2 separate regions of the Homo sapiens genome follow, and region 2 is linked to region 1. The links are contacts of gene promoters, found by promoter capture Hi-C in blood cells and fetal thymus (Javierre and others, 2016). All regions are on one chromosome and are shown on one strand. Each heading gives the region's core, a stretch centred on a gene start or on the middle of the fragment in contact. The rest is flanking DNA. Distances are from core to core; before and after follow the strand shown.

The links. Contacts are between HindIII fragments. The CHiCAGO score rates a contact against its expected background, and 5 or more counts as called.
Region 2: a fragment that was not itself captured here is called in contact with the fragment with the promoter of SKAP1 in region 1 in 2 of 17 cell types (activated CD4 T cells and naive CD4 T cells); the score reaches 5.9 in activated CD4 T cells.

What each region holds. Positions count from the first base shown.
Region 1 is chr17:48,424,905-48,431,540 of GRCh38, forward strand. It overlaps SKAP1 (src kinase associated phosphoprotein 1), which reads right to left and starts at 5,310. Exons shown (of 13, transcript NM_003726.4): 1 at 5,171-5,310. The coding sequence starts at 5,216. RefSeq lists a silencer at 5,224-5,483. The HindIII fragment of the contact is 9,425 bases long and covers 3,712-6,636 here.
Region 2 is chr17:48,613,511-48,620,222 of GRCh38, forward strand. HOXB8 (homeobox B8) reads right to left here and starts at 1,782. Exons shown (of 2, transcript NM_024016.4): 1 at 771-1,782. The coding sequence starts at 1,194. RefSeq lists an enhancer at 4,000-4,523. The HindIII fragment of the contact is 3,223 bases long and covers 2,240-5,462 here.

The sequences.
Region 1 (6,636 bases), core at 4,060-6,559:
CTGGAGACAGAGTGAGACTCTGTCTCAAAAAAAAAAAAAAGAAAAAGAAAAAGAAAATGAAAACCCTCAGTAAGGCCAGGCGGGGTGACTCATGCCTGTAATCCCAGCACTTTGGGAGGCTGAGGCAGGCAGATCATGAGGTCAGGAGTTCGAGACCAGCCTGGCCAACATAGTGAAACCCTGTCTCTACTAAAAATATAAAAATTAGCCTGTCATGGTGGCGTGCGCCAGTATTCCCAGCTACTCAGGAGGCTGAGGCAGAAGAATTGCTCGAACCTGGGAGGCGGGGGTTGTGGTGAGCCAAGATTGTGCCACTGCACTCCAGCCTGGGCAACAGAGTGAGACTCCATCTCAAAAAGAAACGAAAACCCTCAGGAGACAATAACAAGTGAAAAATTATAAGTAGAAAAATCAATAGACAAACCTGTGCACAAATATGTCCCAACTTTTAAAGTATATCCATATAATGAACACTGAGAAAAATACATGGAAATTTAACAATTATTGATTCTGAGTAACTGTATCCTATTGTGTGTTTTCTAAATTTTCTATAATTAGCATTATTACTTTTATAATCAGAAAATTTTAACATAAAAAAGGAATAGAACTATAGTTATATCTCACTTTTCAGAATTCAACTGAGCAGTAGCCTCACTGATCTGCAAGACAATCCAGTTTCAAAAATTAAGCAAAAAAGATTCTGAGCAGCCAAAATACATCTTACAAAGCCCACACTTAAAGGTGTGGGTACTTTGTTCATCAAGAAAGCTCTTTGTAACTTCTTTTACATATATCTCAATTCCAACTAACGTGGTTATCTGATGTACCAGAAGCACTGGGAATGTAGACACACAGACAAGGGTGCAAAGTGATAGGCCTTGGCCTAACAGCAAGAAAAAAATAATGAAAATAAAAATATAAAGCAGACACAGACACTTACAAAGCAGTTCAGGGGCAACTATGGCCAAACATCCTAAACAATATATTACCATAAAGTATGGTAATAGATATTCACTATAACAACTTTGAGTTAAAGAGTGCTCTAAAGAGGTTCATTTGAAGATAGCCGTAGACTGGTTGGCTAAAGAAGAAAAATTCCTAATGCATTTTAGGAAAAACCTGATCACAAATATTTATAAGAAGAAGAAAAGAGTGCTTAAAGAGAATCTCCTCAGCTATCCAGAGCAACTCATTTCTGCAAGTTCCCCACAGTTGGAATTTTACTATACTGAAACGGATTTTATGATTGACTGCATTGACTAATACAGATCTGGAGAACAATCTGGAAGGAAATGATTAATGACTGCTTCTTTACAAGGAAGTTTAAAAATAAATAACTATAGGCATATCAGAATCAGCATTAACACAGCAATTGCTACTACATGCAGCCAGGTTGTTAATGTTATTTTGGCTTAAATCCATATTCTGGGCAGGATTTAGTACCATGTAGGCAGTTGGGACCTATCAGCTACCAGGGTAATGTCAGTAGGCCCCATTCCATCACACAGGACAAACTACGAACCAAAGAAATATCTATTCCACCTCCTTCATACTTGTCTCTTTTGCTTCTGACTTCAAAAGCAGGGCTAGAAAGACCAGGAAGAAGAGACTGATTATGTTTATATCTGTGGAGCAAAGATTATGCAAACTGCCAGCACTTCATTGTTTTTGTTTTCGGTGTGGTTATCACAGAACAAAAACAAAAAGATAACTTCTACATCTGAAGCCCCATTATTTGAAAACAGACCTGAATATTTCCTCCTCTTTCAATAAAGCAGAAAGCACCCTCCATTTTACTTATCTATGAGGTATTTATTTGTTGATAGGGGACTAGTTACTATTTCTATATGAGAGCTTGACAGAGTCTATCTAAAGAAGCTATTTCCTGAGTTACTCTAGAAACCTCACACTGTTTTGATATTTGCCAAAAATCCAAGATAGCGTGTTTTTTTTTTTTAATTTCTCCACCTTCCATACCCCTCAGGGCTAAAAAGAGAAAAACATGATCACAAGCATAGTAAATGGTCCGTTAGCACTCTGACCTCTCTGAGTTTCTATTTGTCTTTTGTTCCTTTTTCTTTTAAATACCCTTACTGTTTATTTTTTCCTGTTTACAGAAGTAATGCATGGTCATTGTCACAATTCAAACAACACAAAGATGTATGAAATAAAAATTAATAACCTCCCCTCCTCCAAACTCTCAGTCTTCTCTCAAGGAAGCCAATGTTAACAGTCTGGTATATATTCTTTTTTACTTATTCCTAGGCTTACACAAATATTTATAACATATGTGGCTTTTCTTGTTTTGTCTTTTGGTTTTCAAGCAAAAATGGGATATTACATGTACTATCATGCATTTTGCCTTTTAGTCTTAAAAATATGCCATGGACACTTTCCAAGCCTATATATAGATCCACAGAATACTCTTTTAGTGGCTGTGAAGTATTCCATGAGACAAATGTCCCATAATTCATTCAACCATCACCCTGAGTCTCCCAACTTATTAACATTTAGCATAGATCTTCGTGCATATACTACTTCATGACCTTTCACTTCAGTGACAGATTTTTAGAAGTGAGGTTTCTAGGTCGAGTGAAACATTTCCAAGTGTCTCAAATTTTATATTTAAACAAAATTAATTTTAGGCCTTGGGAATTTCTGTTCTCTTCATTATGCAAAATTTTGTTATCTACCTTTCACAATGCTTTACATATTTTATTCTTAAAAGCACACACATTATGTCAAAAAATGCCCCTGTCATTTATGCTTGTGTAGTTATAAATAAATAAATGCTTAAGTTATGGCTGTGATGTCCAGTGTTAAATCACTGTGCAAATGCTTATGCCTTGGTTTATGAAAGTAGTAATTCATTGTGGAAACCCCACCCCCACAGCCATGTGGCAGCACTAGAGTTGCAGCCCTCACATCCTGTGACTCCCTCCCACAGAGTGACTATATAGAGATCAGGACCTCCATTTTTTCTAATTGTCAACAGTTAACCTTAAAAAGTGTGTGGTGGGGGAGACAAATAGCAACAAACAACAAATTGATGGCCATTTTGGGTTTCTAATATGGACAGATTATTTGTAACACAATGAATAATCCTCCTGGTCTACACCAGCGACTGTGTTCCAAAAGAAATAAAACTTGTAACCAATATATTGCTATTATTATTACAGGAACCTTTAAAAAACATATCTTCAAACATTTTTCAATAGAATTACTGGATGAATCACACTTTACATTTTTTTCTCTACTTCAGATTCAAGTTCTAATTGCAAACTTAAAAAAAAAAGCCTTAAAGAAATACATTAACCAACGAAGCTCCTTATAATTTGGTTTCAGACTCCTCCATATATTTTAAAGACCTGAGCACCAACAGAGATTGTTAAGATACAGCAAGCTTGATACAGAAGTATGCGACATGCAATTAATCTCCATTCATACCCCGCTCTACTTGTCAGCAAACAAAGGTTCTGCTTTAGAAGGAGATCTGAAGACTTCAATTAAAAACAGTCAGCTAACAAGAAAATAATCTAAGCTAAAGGAAGGTGGCAGGTGCAGAAATGAGTTGTTTACCAAAGTGTCAGTTTTGAACAATGAAGAACTGCACATCAAAAATGCTGAAGGAATGGATTTCATTGCAAGCCTCTGAAAATAAAAAGGAATTTTCTACCAAGCCTAGACACAAAACTGAAGTATAGTTTAATAAGCTTATAAAATAGGTTTCCTCTCATCAAATGACAGATACCAATAAAAAGAATCAGTTTATATATTTCAATGCAAGGGCAGAGTTAAACTTTTTGCCACAGTCCCTTCTTTCCTAGAAACCAAAGACAATTACAGCCTTCCTTCACAAGCCTAATATTAAACCAACAACAGAGGGAAAGGCTGGATTGTTTCTTCTTAGACACCCAGATAATTCTCTTTTACCCTGCAAATAGTTTTCTACCCCCAAAATTTAGATTTATTCTGATCGTAAGTAAAACGGATTTTGGAAACCTCACCTCAAAAGAAATATCTAGCTGACAGCTTTTACATAGAAGCAATCCAGAATGGAAATAGTGCTACAGACAGAGACCAAAAGGACTTGCCAAATATTTGATTAGGAGGCATTTATACCGAGATAACAAGGTAATGGAGATATAAAACCAATTAAATTGAGAGAAACTGAAAAAAAATACTGCTTGCCAAAAATATGACCTGCCCAAAGCAGGCCGTCTGTTAAATATGTGTCAACTATGTCAACTTAGATGCCAAAAGGCTTAATTCTGAATAGTTTCCTCCTGGGAGCCTTATGCGACTGCAGATTCCAGGCCTCTGTCCTCCCTGGAAGGTTAGTTACAGGAAAGCAAGTAAAAGTGACTTCCACCACGAAACCCAGCAGATGAAACTGCCCGTTAGCAACGTCTCTTTGTGACATCTCTTTGGAGTGTTGGCAGTGTGTGTTGAGTGTTGACGGGGATGGCCGGAACTCTTTAAACCACCGCTTAGACACTGTAGTTGGAAGGTGAACACACCACAATGGGAGTTGGAAGGTGAACACACCACAATGGGGGCACTTCTAGAAAAGGAGGAAATCCCATACTGAGAATGAGCCTGCCTTGGGGTGGGTGAGACCCCTAGACGTCTGCAGGGTGATAAAGGGAGGGCTGGGGTTTTCGCACTGACAAAAACTCACGTCAACCACCTGGCCTTGGCCCATGGGGATCCCATGAGCCCCTCGCAGCCCCCTGGAGAGCCTCGGGGACCTCTAAGCAGGAAGGTTTGGGGTCTTCTGTGAGAGGTGAGGAAGTCGTGGCTGGGGAAGGAGGGGGACGGGAAACCCTACAGATGTAGGGCAGTCCTTTGGAGAAAGGGACAGGTCGGAGACCAGGCAAGGTGGCATGGGGGACCAAGAACCTGGCCTGAGGACTTTAGAAGCCGGGGAGGTGAAGTGGAGGCGTGGAGGTGCCTCAAGGCAAAAGAAGATGTGGGACTCCAGGGAGTGAAAGGGGCCCTGAGGTGAGAGGATGGAAAGCTGGCTCTAGGGAGTTGAGGGCTCTAGAAGCCTTAAGGTTCTAGAAGGAGGTGAGTGACGAAGCCGTAAAGAAAGCCTGGCCGTGGGAGGCCTGGTGTCCCCTTTCGGCCTTCGGCTCAGCACTGGAGGGGGCCTGCGCCAGGGCGTTACCTTCCAGGAGCCAACGGATCTCCTCAGGGAGGGCGGCGGCCTGCATTTGGCTGGGCGGGAGAGAGGCGGGACGGGGCGCGGGCCCTGGTCGGGAGGCGGACGGGCTGGAAGGCGACCCGGCTGCACCGCGAGGCACCTGTACCTCAGCCGCGGTCGCCGCCCGCCCAGCCCGGCCGCGGGGCGGGGCCGTGGGTCCCCGGGCGCGTCAGGAAGTGGCGCGGGCGGCAGGCGGGGACCGGAACGGGGCGCGGGGCGTGGGTGCACGTGGCGCTCACGCCGGAGCCCCACGGTAGAAGGATTGGGGGTGCCGGAAGCACCGCACCGTGCGAGGCCAAAGGTGCGCCCCTCCAGCACCCACCAAAACAAAAGACTTCACAAGGCTCAAAGGACCCACGGCTTTGGACACTCCATCCTAAGCACCGAACAGTTGACCTCACGGTGGCAGATTTGAAAGACCACGGGGTGCCTGAAGTAGGGTGCAGGGAGGCAGAATCCAAGGAAGAGATCCCCGTCAAGCATAGCACCCCTCAATTGCCGGTCCAGTTCACATCTCCATCCCCAGAAAAGAGGGCAAAACTTCGCTCTTTGGGAAGCCACAATGTTGAAAGGAAATGATTAATTCCCAATAAGCAATATAAGGACACCAACATTTGGGAGAATCGCGGCAGCGTGGCAGCAAGGGACACAGGAAACCAAACTGTGCTGTTCTCCCTCAGGATGGAAAGGCCCTGAGGAAAGGAAGGGGTAACACAGGGAGAAAGCTGAGGGAGAGGAGAACAGAGCCCTTTCCCTCCAGGAGCTGCGGAAGGGAGGAAAGTGAAGGACAAAATCACACGGTCTCATTCAAGGGACAGTTGGTGTCAGTGTCCTGGTTGTGACATGGTACTGTAATAGTGCCAGATGTTACCCTTGGGGGAAACTGGGTAAAGGTAGACAGAGTTCCTCTATTATTTCTGAAACTCTCTGTGAATCTATAATTCTCAAAATAAAGAGGTTTTTTAAGTACAATAGGTCAACTGCCATGAAAAAAGTATAAAGTGCTATGGTTGATAAAAGAAGGGAGCTGAATACCAGAAAAGGAGGGAAGAGGCCAGGCATTGTGGCTCACACCTGTAATCACAGCACTTTGGGAGGCTGAAGCAGGAGGATCACTTGAGCCCAGGAATCTGAGGTTACAGCCAACTATGATCACCCCAGTGTACCCCAGCCTGGGCAACAGAGCAAGACCCTGTCTCTTAAAAAAGAAAGAAAATAAAAAGAAGTGCCAGTGTGCATGTGAGTGTTTAAAGGTGCATGTGGTGTTTGAGATGGGCTCTGAAAAACACACCAGACTTTGAAGGGGCAGAGGACTTTCCAGGTGGAAGGACCAGAGTAAAGAAAGATGGAAGAGCCCTCACCAGCTTGAGGAATAGTTAGTAGCCCTCTTTTACTGGATGTTGTAGAAAGACTATGGTTGTCAAGATAAA
Region 2 (6,712 bases), core at 2,601-5,100, 190 kb after region 1:
TGGGAATGGGGGAAAGGGCGAGACAGAGGGGAGGGGAGGGTGGGGGAGGGGGCAGGGACGGAGAAGGTTGGAAGATTCGTGAACGAGCCTGGGAGACCATTATAATAAGGGCAGGGGACCTTCTACCCCGTGCGGGGGCGGGGGGGGCGCAAGAAGGCCGCGGTCGGCGGAGGAGGAGGGGCGAGGGGGATTAGACACAAGTGAATCTAAGGGAGCCAGAAAGGGGAGCCCCCTCCCCCGGTAACCAGCACCAGAGTTGTGTAGGAGGTGGTTCAGATCTATTAGAAGTGCCATAAACTTTAGGAGGAAGGATGTGAAGGAGGGGGGAAAATAAGAATAAAAAAGCCGGGTGGGGACGAATGGACCCACCTTGAAAAGCCCCCAGAGCCTCTGCCCCAGAAGAAAAGTTTCTTCAGGGTAATTAAACTATAAAGCAATTGAGAAGTGCAAAAGTTGAGCGCCCCCACTCCCACCACCCTCTCTTCACTACCCCCCATAAAACAGTAAAAGGGGAAAAAAAGGAGGAGAAGAAGAAGAAAAGTAAGGCAGGATGAGGGGTTTATAGATTCAGGAAATGTTTCTAAGCGACCCCCTTCAAGGGAAAGAAAAAAGAAAGAAGAAAGAAAGATAAGAAAGAAAGGGGAAAAGCGGCAGGCGATCGGAACGGAGCCGGCAAGTCTTCCAGAAGCTGGAGGAAATGCGCCCCGGCCTGCCAGGCCTTGGGCCCTTCCGGCCCCCTCCTGCCCTTGTCGGCCCCGAGGCGAGCTCACCTTGCGGGCGCATCCAGGGGAAGAGCTGTGTGGGCGACGGGCTCTGCTCGGAGCCCTCGGCCTCCTCGCCCAGGCCGCTGGCGGCGGCAAGCTTGCAGTCTGCGTACTGCACCAGGTCTGGATCCTGCGCACCGAATAGGCTCTGGCGTTGCAGCGGGTCGTAGCCGTAGAAATTGCCGGGGTCCCCGTGGCACGCCACGGCGCACGGGTTCTGCTGGTAGGGAGCCGTGGACAGCGACGACGGCCCGTGGTAGAACTCCTGGATTTGCGACGGGTGCTGGAAGCTGCCGCCGCTGCTGGGACCGTACACCACGGTGGGTCGGCCGCCCAGGTCCTGGGCGAAGCCGCAGTCATAATAATTGGGGCGCAGGGACTCCCCGGTTTTGTATTTGGAGAACAGTGAGTTGACGAAATAAGAGCTCATTTTATTGAATTTTGAGGCGGCGGCGGCGGCGGAGGCTATAGTTGGGGGCTGTTGGGGAGGGGGTGGGGAGGGGGAAAGGGAGGGAGAGAGAGAAAAAAACGCGGATTCGCCGGCTCCTAGTCACCCTCGCCAGGAAAGGAGAGGGAAAGAGAGGAGGGAAAAAAAGAAAAGAAAGAAAAGGCGAAGAAGATCTCGAAGCCGACACACTTTTTGTGGTTTCCAGGAATAGAAAAGGACAGAGAAGCCTCCAAAAGTCTAAGCTTGCATGGCAGCCGCGGCTCGCTCGCCCTCCCCCCACCCCCCACCCCCCAAACAAAAATATACCACCACTTAAAGAGGTCCTCGCTTTACATTTCGAAGAAGGGATGCCAGTTCATAAACAGTTTTCGGTGATTTACTTCCCTGCAAATGAGTTGTTTCATATTTTGCACTGTCTTTTCATGATCATTTGCATCCATTAGAGACCCCGCATCCTATTGGCTTCTTCGTACTCCTCCCGGACAGAACGCAGAGCGAGGGTGAGAGCGAGAGAGAGCGAGCGAGAGAGAGAGCTAGAGCGAGAGAGCGCCAGGGAGTGAGGAGAGAGCGGAAAAAAAAAAAGGAGGGGAAGAAAAAAACACCCAGGGAGAGAGAGGGGGAGAGGGGGAGAGAGAGGGGGAGAGGGAGAGGGGGTGAGAGAGAATGAATACGGATTAAATCTGTTTAACTACCTACATTAATGAGATATCTCTCGCCTCACAACAAATCAAATACCTTCGCAGACCACCCCCAAAGACTGATGTGGGGGAGTCACGGAAAAAAACACGCACACACACATACACAACGCGCCAGGCGTAGGCACGCTGTTAATTTCGCGATTTTAACGAGGCAATTGGAGTCTTTCTAAATGTCAGGGTCGCTTCGGAAAAATGTAAAAGAACACGGTTTAATTGCGCCGAGTTTTAAAAGGTCCTATAAATGTAATTGGTATTTTAATACAAGTTATCAAATCATACAGCTTCCTCTCCTAAACGTATTTTCAAACAAACGAGGTAGTCATATTTAAAGCTTTAATGATCAATTTCCTTATTATTGATAAAGGTTTAACTATCGTGTGGAGGGAATTGGCTGGATAACCGGCCCCCCAAAAAACGGCTGTAAACTCTTTAAGAAACTATAAAACGCAATAAAGCCGGAGTCTGTTGTTGTTTATGCCGCAGCGCATAAAAGCTGTTAGCATTTTACGAGTTCTTTCCTCTACAGCTATAAAACTGCAGCTTCGATCGCCCCCGCCGCCCGATTGCAGCACGGTGGGGGTGACGAAGCCGAAATGAGAATGATTATGGGGATTTTTTTTTGGCACAAACGGTGACTTTTCTGAGATTTTCACCTCCTTCCGTCCTGGCAAGCACCTGCCCCCACCCCTTCTCTGGAGCCCCCAAAAGGTCCCTTCTCTGCCCTGCCCTCTCTGCCCTGCCCTGGCCAGTCACAAAACTTCCTCTCATTAAACAAATAAGCAAAAATTTTCTGTGAAACAGGGATCTGGGAGATCTTGAGGAGGGAACGGGAGGGAAGAAGAAACTTTCTGGTTAATGAGCAGTGGTTGAAGCACAGAGCAAAGTTCGAGCTGCCACTGCCGATTCTGCAGGTTTGTGCACTCTCTGCTTGCTGAAAAGGGGGTCTCCTGAAGGCCCTTCAGCCCATCAGCACTTTTGAGGGCAGACTTTGCATGAAGGGAGAGGGCCTGATGCCATCAGAGGGATGAAGCCCCAATGGGCTACCCGACACTTGCACCCAGGCCTTGGGACCCAGTAGCCAAGCCCAATTATTAATAGCTCCCAACCTTCCCAGGCCGACCCCCACACCTTCTGCAGTGCCTAAGGGTGAGAGGGGACCACTGAGCCCATCACTGCATCAAAAGGAAAGAAGGTTGGGTATCAGGCCCTGGCACCTGGCCTTCGTGTCCGCTGTCCTATGCTCTCAGCCACCCTAGGCAGTGCCTGCAGAGTATGTGTTGGGAGGGCATCTATTAGTCCTCAGTGTCCCCAAGACCTTTTGAGCCACTGTCACCACCTAAACTGACTTGGGTGTGGAATTCAGATAAAGCAAGGTTGCTGAGTCTCCCATTTTCTCTCCTTTCGCCTTGGGGAGCCTGTAGTTAAACCTGGCTCTCCCTGCAGACCTGGGAACCAGAGGTCTGAACACGGAAAGCTGGAACAAGCTGACTGGGTGCCACACTCTGTGGCCACTGCGTTCCCTGCCTACCCGGCTTCACGATGGTGGTGGCCAGGCTTTAGAAGGCCCCAGTCTGAGGGTCAGAACCAGTAGCCTCCTGTAGCAGTAGATTGGCAAGGGAGAGGAATGAGAGACAGAAAGAAAATTTTGAGCAACAAAAGTGGAGGCTTTACAAATATATTCAATCCATTGTTTATTCAGGAAACAGTGGTTTGTTTTTTTGACGGGCACCTTTTGGGGACCCCATACACCCCAACATTTGTAAAAATGAAACTATCACTTTTCCAAAGGGAACCTTACCAGTGAGGTCATTTGGTTCTTCAAAAGTGAACCTAGAGAATGAGAGAGGGGCTAGAAGCGGGAGAGAGATAAAGGAAAAGAGGAGGAATGGAGAGAACCAGGGCTTTGAATTTTCAGCGCGTGGCTGAGGGGACCGTGAGGCAACGGAGGGCCGAGTTAAATTGTTGCCGAAGCAAACATTTTTATCAAGTGCAGAGGATTTTATGGTCATTATTTGAAAACTCACCGGCGAGGTACAAATTCAATGGCTTGTTCTAAATCATCTCTACACCGTGCCAGAAATTCCTGATGGAAGGAAAATGTTTCTGTTATAGGAAAAAAAAAAAAAAAAAACGAAAGAGCGAGGAGACAATTTATAAACACCCAGCGGAGCGCAGATTTATTAGAGAAACTCAAGTTGAGGAGAAACTCCGCTTACCTCCTTGCACTAAGTCCTGGTGGGGGAGAGGAGAGGCTGCAGCTGGGGTGATTTTGAGGGGGTGGGAGTATCTATTGCTGGCGCAGGTTTGTCGGATGGAAGGCAGGGATCCGGCGGGGCCGGGAGGACACAGGAGATTTGGAATGCAAGGGGCTGTGAACAACCAGGGTGCGGGTCTCAGAACGAAAGTGCCCGGAGTCCAGACCTCCAGCTGCTCAATGAGGAAAGGACCGGCGCCCCCAGGTTTGCCTGCGGCCAGGGCCAAGGCGCACTGAAGCCGCACCTCTCACCTGGAAGCCCAGGAACCCAGGGAGAACAGAGCTCCTGCGTCCTGACGCCGCGCCCGCCTTCGCGCCCATGGGAAAACGCGCATTCTTTGGGAGCGCGCAAAGCATCCAGAGACCACATCCGAGCCTTCCCGCACCCTGCTGCCCTGGGGAGCCCCTGCCCCGTGCCTAGGTCGCCCTGCGCGAGCCCAGCCCAGCCCTGGACTCATACAAAGGCTCCAGAGCTTGCGCCCGTGCGAAGCCGCCCTGCCGGCTTTGGGCATCTCCGAATCCCCACAAAAGCTATGGCTCCATTCCCCCACACACACAAACTGGGGGGTCTCGGGCTGGCTTACGTGATTTTCTCTCCAGCCGATGGGCAGCTTCCTCTCCATCCTACCTTCTTTTGCCGGCTAGCCCCTCTCACCTGACCTGCTGACCCGCATCCAGGGACATTCCTTTCGCCTCCTTTCACGGAAAATCTCGTTGTTTCGAATCAATTCTCCTTTTGGATTTGGACCCATTATTCCTATTATTACTATTATTCCCCGTTTTCACGCATTTGTTGCCCCACCGAACACAGCAACTGGGTGAGAATCACTGAGCCCTCCTCTTGGGGAAAATTCAGAAAATTGACCATTTGAGGAGATGGGGGAACACTACTATAACTGAAATCTATAAAATGGGGGTAAGGCCATAACGAGCCCTATTTTTTTTATTAGGTACAAATTATTCATGACTTTTGGTAGCACTCAGTTCCTGGATTCAGGGCCGACCAAGGCGCGGTGCCGGGAGCAGACATCCGCAGCTGCCGCTCCAGGGAGTTTCACATGGAGCAAGGGTGCCATCTAGCGGCTGCTCTGCGAAAAGGCGCCGCAGCCACCGGCTCCACCAGTTTTCTGGGAGAGCAGCCGCAGAGGTGGCCAGCAGGAGAAACTTTCATAACTAGCAGTAAAAGGGGAGGGATAGGGAGTGGGCATCGGAATCAGGAAACGGTTCATGAAATTGTGTAGATAAGCTAAAAAATAGAAAAAAAACACAACAGAGGGGAGGAAAAAAAAGAAGCCCTAAGCTTTTTTCTTTCTACGTACACCTCCCACCCCTGCCCCTAATTTCTAGCGGAGACCGCAAAGCAGTGCGCCCTTTATGGCCTGTAAAAAGGGGGACCGAGCAGTTTTCAAACTCCACGCGATTGTTTCAAATTCTGAGGAGAAACAGTTGGGCTTTTTGTCGGGGGAGAGGAGGCCTGAGAGGATAGGATGAGACTGTAAAAGAATCAAGAGGCTGCCCGCGCCCAGACGTCTGGCCCCGCCGGACCTGAGTGTGTGTGTGTGTGTGTGTGTGTGTGTGTGTGTGTGTGTGTGTGTGCGCGCGCGCGCAGGAGGCTCCTCGTTTCCGACGCCTGATTCTGGAGGGGGTGTGAAGAACAAAGACAAGAGCCCCAGTTGCAATTTCTGAAGCATTTGCGACAACAAAGTGTTCTTTCCCGGCTTCTCTCTTCTCCCTCTCTGCCCCCTGCCACCCCCCGCCCCGGAAGCCCGGAGCCCCGTGTTCTGTGCGGGTGAGGGTGAAGGCTGCCGGAGCGGGGCCCACCCATTCCCCCGCCAGGCCGGGAGCCCCGGCCCAGCTGCGGCTCTCTCAGCTCCGGAAAGTTTCCCCTCGCTGTTTGCTTTGCTGCTGTTTAGTTTCTTAACCTTCAGAAATTTATACGCTATAAACTTTTATAGCGGTCATATTATTTTATTGCTGCGCACACGGCATTGAATTCCTCTCCCGGCTTCTCTCTGCCTCGCACTCTGGCGGTGTCCCTCTCTGAATCTCTCTTTTATGACAACTGATTTCCCCATCTCCGGCTTCCGAGCCTCCGCATCTTCGCCTTTGTTTGTCTTTAAAGAAGCAGCCCTGGGCTGGGGACCCAGACGCTGCAGGCAGAGGCCCCTCCAAGCGCCCTCGCCCCTACCACGCAGCACTCCCCTCTGTTCCAGCCTCGCTGAGCGTTTGCTTTAGGCAGAAACCGACCTTCTGTCTTTGCTGTCAGCACCGGCTGGGCCTGGGTAGCCCAGGATGGGGCAGGAGCCTGGTCTACACCAGCTGTAAAGCCAGATTCATTTTGCATCCCTAATGAAACCCTCTTTGGAGGGTGCCTGTCCGGGCCTGCCTGATGCGGAGCTCCGCTTTCTCCTGCCTCCCGCCGTCTCTTGGATCAGTTCGTCCTTTCGTTGGAGGAGGGTAGGCCTGGCCTTTTCACTTGCAGTCTCCCTTCATTCGGGCCATGCTTCGTTCCCAACTCTACCCCAACTCGCAGGGTCTCCGCGGGCCG